Regions from separate parts of the Homo sapiens genome. Here region 2 is linked to region 1. Evidence: promoter capture Hi-C in human tissues and cell types (Jung and others, 2019). All regions are on one chromosome and are shown on one strand. The core of a region is centred on a gene start or on the middle of the fragment in contact, and the rest is flanking DNA. Distances in the headings are between cores, read along the strand shown.

Region 1 (3,056 bases), core at 363-2,862:
CCCGCCTCTACTAAACATACAAAAATTAGCCAGACATGGTGGCAGGCACCTGTGATCCCAGCTACTTGGGAGGCTGAGGTGAGAGGAGCCAGACATTGCCTCAAAAAAAAAAAAAACCTTAATGGGCCAGAAAGCCATGTTACTTTTCTCAGGAATCGAGGACAATCCACCAATCACAGAAGAGTTTTTGGAAGAAAACGTTTTGTTTGTTTTAACTTGCTCTTTTCACCACCCTTTGGTGATTAAATAGTTTGGGAAATGCTGAATGAAATTACTAAACCTGAAACACACATAGTGAGGAAAGCTGAGAGTCTGTGATTAAAGCACACCAGGGAAACCAAACAAAAGGCTTGGTGTAAGGCAGCTGTGGTGAGCAAACCTAGTAAGCCGTTACTTCAAGAGTTGGTTTCAGGCTGGGAACGGTGGCTCACGCCCGTAATCCCAGAACTTTGGGAGGCCGAGGTGGGCGGATTGCCTGAGGTCAGGAGTTCGAGACCAGCCTGGCCAACATGGTGAACCCCTGTCTCTATTAAAAATACAAAAATTAGCCGGGTGTGGTGGCGCGCGCCTGTAAATCCCAGCTACTCAGTGAGGCTGAGGCAGAAGAATCGCTTATCCCAGCTACACAGTGAGGCTGAGGCAGGAGAATCGCTTAAACCCGGGAGACGGAGGTTGCAGCGAGCCGAGATCGCGCCATTGCACTCCAGCCTGGGAGACAGAGCGAGACTCTGTCTCAAAACAAAAGACTTGGTTTCAGATTATTGTGTTTGCGAAAAAGCCTTTGCTCATTCTTTGCTCTCTGATCTCTTATGCATACTTCTGTCTTATAATTTAGCCCACCGTCTCCTAATTTTTGGCCTGCATCTCCCTTGAGAAGAAGGACCTCCATTTACTCAACTTAGAGAATAGGGCCTAAGCCCGGTGTAGTGGCGCGCGCCTCTAGTCCCAGCTACTACAGGAAGGCTGAGGCTTAAGGATTACTTGATCCAGGAAGTTCGAGGCTGCCATGAGCCGAGATCACACCACCGCACTCCAGCGACAGAGAGACTCTGTCTCTAAAAAAATAAAATAAAGCCTAGCACACCGTTCAATTAACAGTTGTAGGGTAAATGTGCAAATAAATGAATGGAGTGAAGCAGAAGAATATGGAAATTCAGACCGCAGAGTTCCGGAACAAAAGAGCCCAGTAGATAGAATAATAATGGAGGAGAACCCAGTTCTCCTAGCTCCGGGTATCCCCCGCGCCTGGCAAAACACCATCACTGGTTGGCGTTCAATAAATGTTGACTTCACATGTTAAGGAGATAAGAGAGTGGAAGAAAAAAAAAAATCCAGGGTCACAGTTCTTCCTGCCACCTGCTCGGCCGAATGCAGAACTGAAAGTATTGAGCGCCGGAGCTGTCACAATTGAGGGAGATGGTCCGCAGCCAGGTAGCTGATTTCCTCTTTCCGAGCTTTCTAGCTTTCCCTACTCCCGGAGAGGTGGCGTCACGTGACTCAAACAAATATGGCACTTAATTTTCATCTTCCCTGCCTTGAGCCAATAGGAGTGGGGCTTTCAGTCTTTGTCACCACCCCCACCACCGCTGTTCGGAGTGGGTTCTGTCACCTGACTCGGCTCAAACATGGCTGCGCTGAGAGCTCTATTGCTTTGGGCGCCGGGAGCAGGTGAGTGTAAGACACCCCTGAGAGGGAGGGGCCCCTCTCCACGACCCCCGCAGAGAGCGTCCCTGCGGCCCACCCCCACACTGCTTTCCACTTATGACACAGATTCGTCTCCTGGTCGTCAATCCTCTGCCTTAACAGAGGGCTCAAACTAGGGAGGTTCCTGCTGAATTTCTCATTCTTGAGGAGGCGACCACCTGGGGATTTGGAGTCAAGACTGGGCATAACGTTCAGTAGGGAATACGGACGTAGAGTTATGGGTCTGCGCCCGGAGCAAATATGACTATTAATATTATTAAATATAGGAATCCGCGTGAAGAGATGGGATCCACCCCTTGAAGAAAGTGTTTTCAAAAAGTAACGTGGGAAATTAAACTGAAAACGATACTTAGGCAAGCAAGTCCCGCCTTTCCCAGGCGGACCAGTAGTTGCTGCTTTGTCTTAATACAGTGCCTTCTGTTTCTTCTCACTGGCGTTGTGTTGTTTCTAGGAGGTACTCCGCGAATGAGAACATTGAGAATGTGTTCGGCATAACTCATTTCTTTGTATCTCCCTGCACTCTGTGCTGGGAAAATGAATCATCCATTTGGAAAAGAGGAAGCTGCTTCGCAGAAGCAGCTTTTTGGATTTTTCTGCGAATGCCTGCGGAGGGGAGAATGGGAGCTGGCACAGGCATGTGTACCTCAGCTACAGGAGGGACAAGGGGATATCCCAAAGAGGGTAGAAGACATACTTCAGGCATTGGTGGTGTGTCCAAATCTGCTGAGGTAAGGGATCTCTTTTCCTACCAGACGGTCCCAGGGTGAGAGACATGTGGTTCAATATTTGGGCATTGGTCAATGTGCCCCCACTCAACTACCCTCTGAAGAATAAGCAGAGGCACAGTGTATTTCACGTGCTCTGAAATTTTACCTCTATAGTATACATCCATTACTTAGTCAATATTGGCTTTTGATTATCATCTGCAACTGAATGTAAGCCTGGCTGCCAAAGTGTGCCTGAAACTGCCATTTCTTGTTTATCCTCGTTAATATAGATGGTGGAACTGCATTGAAAACTATTTTCTTTGCCTCCAAAAAAGCAAACCCTGCTCTCTTCTTGCTTATGAGATTGAAAATATTGTTGTCGCTTTACTTAAAACTTTTTATTTCGAAATAATTGCAGTCTCACAAGAAGCTGCAAAAATAATGGAGTCCAGCGTATCCTTTTCCCAGTCTGCCCCAATTGCGACGTCTCATACAGCTGTAGTACAATATCAAAACCATGAAATTGACATTGGCACATTACTTTAAATGACACTACAGAGTTTATTTGGTTTTCAGCATTTTCTTAATCTGCCTTCATTTTTTCATTTGTAGTTTTATGCAGTTTTATCCATATATAGATTCATG
Region 2 (3,095 bases), core at 60-2,559, 1.1 Mb before region 1:
GGTTAAGATTGATTGGGTTGACACTGGTAGAACACTTGGGGCAGTGGGTTGGGAGTGACATCCTGATCTCTGAAGCTCTTCCACTCAGACCTTTCAATTAGATCTGCAGCCTCAGGACTTTGGACCTTTGGGGACTGCTGTGAACAGCGAGCTGCCCCAGGTGTCTGGGCAGGCAGGGAGTATGGGTGCAAAGCTGTGGCCTCTCTGCCTGTTCCTCCTTCTGTTGGCTCAGGTCTGAAAATCTGGGTGTGGCCTCTGCCCCTCCTCCCCGTCTCTCCTGAGTATCTCTTGTATCCACCTGCTTCTCCCTCTCCTACACTGCCACCCTGGACTGGCTCCCTTTGTCTCTGGCTGGGACCTTTTCGTGATCTTGTGCTTGGTCTCTTTTCAGCCACTCTTTTCCATCTCTGATCTGCCCTTCCCATGGCATTTAGAGGTCTCTTTCTAAGATGCAGGTGGAATTATGTAACCAGCATCTGATTGGCACTCCCAGCCCAACTCAGCCCGCCACAGCCCCATTTGTTTCTTTCAGCTAAAATAAAATGTCTTCGGTGACTTCCACTGCTCTCAGGAGAAACAACAGCTGCAGGAACCCGAACACCCATGTGGCTAGTTGATCTCCAGTCTCTGGCACCCTCTTCTTCCCTCCTGCACTGTGACTTTTTTTTTTTCAGTTTTTTGAACAGACCTTACTCTCTTTTCTCTGGGGCCTTTGCTGTTTGTTTGTTTTCTTCTTCTTCTTCTTTTCTTTCTTTCTTTCTTTCTTTTTTTTTTTTTTGAACCGGAGTCTTACTCTGTTGCCCAGGCTGGAGTGTAGTGGTGCAATAGGCTCACTGCAACCTCCGCCTCCTGGGTTCAAGCGATTCTCCTACCTTAGCCTTTTGAGTAGCTGGGATTATGGGCACGTGCCACCACACCCAGCTAATTTTGTATTTTTAGTAGAGACAGGGTTTCACCATGTTGCCCAGCCCCACACACGCGTAGGGTGACCTACAGCTACCTGCTCCACACACGCATAGGGTGACCTACAGCTACCTGACCCACACACGCATAGGGTGACCTACAGCTACCCGCCCCACACACGTGTAGGGTGACCTACAGCTCTGCCTATACCTGTTATGCTGGTGTAATTATTAGTAGACCCCCTGGTGCCTTGGTTTGGATGACAGGTTATGTGGGCCCCCTTCACATTTACGAACTTTTCATCTAATACTCCCCAGCCTTATAGATTCACTGACTCCCTTGGGGCAGTGATCAGACACACTGCCCCCCTACAGCCCCCCAGGATCAGTTCAGGGTCCTGTTTTAGCCTTATGCCTTCCAGGACCTTTCCTATAGGCACTGGATCTTAGTGTACAAAAATACACGCATTGATAAAATCTTTGCTTATTGTTTGTCTTCTCCATTAGACTGCAGGCTCCATGACTTAGGACAGTGCCTGTATTTGCCCACGATGTAACCCTAGTCCCTGATACAGAATGAGTGCTCAGTAAGAATTTATGGAAGGAAGGAATGAATGAATCTGGCTGCAGCTGTCTGGCAGGGGAGGCCTGGAGCCTGGGCGAGTCTGTAGAATCTGCAGTGGCCTGCGTGAGGGAGGCTGCCAACATCGGGCCAGTCCAAGCCCTAGCAAGCCAGTTGCCCACACTCTGGCACACATCATCGGCTTGGTGGCCCCTTTAATTATTCATCGGTCTTTCTCAATGGCCTTTGTGTTCAGAAACCCAAGACAGAATTCAAACCCTCTTTCCATCTCCCTAAAACTGAGACCTGGAAGAAAAACCTGCTGGCCCATTCTGCATCCCCAGGGGGCCAGCAGGTCCACAGCCTCCTCTCGTGGCTGGCTTTAAGCGTTGAAGTGTCCTGGGCTGCCCTGTGGCTCTCCTCCCCAGTCCACTGGGCTCAGGGACTGCCTGGGCACAGCTGAGTGGGTGCCCGTGTGGCTTGAGACTGAGCAGGGACTGGTGCAGGCTGGTGGGCAGAGCTGGATGAGTCCCCATCATTCCCCAGCCTGAACGGAGTCTGAAGGCTGGCCTGGAAGAGTTTAGCCTCCCAGCAGAGTGGAGCAGGCTCAGGCTTTGACCGACCTAGTTCACACCTCAGTTCTGCCTCTTGCCAGCTGTGTGACTGTGGGGAACTGGCCCTTGGTGTCCTGTTCCTTTGTTCCTTTAACCTAGAATTGTTGAGTGGACTTGCTGAGATGGCGCATGCCTCGTGGGTGATGATAACAGTGAGTGAGCACTCACTGAGGGTTATAATGGTAGCCAACATCTTTGAGCAACCCTAGGATATGATTCCCTCTCCTTCCCTCACCTCCCCTTGGGGCTCCCTGAAGTCCACGTTGCCATCAGTGTCCCCATCTTGAAACTGAGGATGGAACGCTGATCTTTCCTTTCAAGGTTGGGGGGAGGGGGCTGGGGAGCCGAAAGCACCCCAGGGCTGCCCTTGCTGCAGTGTCTGAAGTGAAGCCTAGGAGCCCCGGTGCTGGTGGGCAACAGCAGGCGTGGATCTCTCTGATCTTTGAAGAGGACTGTGAATACACTGACCACAGGCGGAAGCCCCTTGTCCCGTCCTGCCCTGCACTACCCAGAGGTCCCTGGGCTTCTCAGCAGAGGTGGACAGATCTGCTTGCAGCTGCCCTTCTTCCCACGCTTCTGGAAATGGAAGTTCCCACAGACACATTCCTGTTCCTCAGCTTGCTGCTCCCTGCTTGCTGATACCTTGCCGCCCTGTCCCTCAAACCGGGCTGGCCATACCAAGGTGTTGGCGAGCTGCTCAGCCTGCTGAGCTGTTGACACCCCAGACCACCGCCGGCCTAGTGGACAGGCCAGGAAGGCAGTGATGGCACTGGGTCACATTGTCCTGGGCCTGGGTGAGGGTTTCTGTGCTGCTTTTTAATGTGCTGATCTGTGTGTTTGTGTTTTGGGAGAAGAAACTTTGTGTTGCGGAACCTCAGGTGAAGAGAATTGAGGTCGTTAGGCTCCTCCGTCATGGCCCAGTGTCATCTCGGGGCCATGCAAGGCCTCTGTGTGTCCGTCACATTTTATCCTACAATCTCCTGTGATGGATATGCAGATTGTCCCCAGCTGCTCTCC

The links. Contacts are between HindIII fragments. The study calls those that stand out against the background at their distance.
Region 2: a fragment that was not itself captured here is called in contact with the fragment with the promoter of ZFYVE26 in region 1 in 1 of the 25 tissues and cell types used here (spleen).

The regions. Positions count from the first base shown.
Region 1 is chr14:67,815,146-67,818,201 of GRCh38, reverse strand. It overlaps ZFYVE26 (zinc finger FYVE-type containing 26), which reads left to right and starts at 1,612. Exons shown (of 42, transcript NM_015346.4): 1 at 1,612-1,668; 2 at 2,156-2,432. The coding sequence starts at 2,239. RefSeq lists enhancers at 1,081-1,180, 1,231-1,400. The HindIII fragment of the contact is 27,987 bases long and covers 1-3,056 here.
Region 2 is chr14:68,942,847-68,945,941 of GRCh38, reverse strand. The region is part of intron 1 of ACTN1 (actinin alpha 1); the gene reads left to right. Among named protein-coding and RNA genes, the nearest start is that of ACTN1, 35 kb to the left of the region's middle. RefSeq lists an enhancer at 2,833-3,095. The HindIII fragment of the contact is 5,962 bases long and covers 1-3,095 here.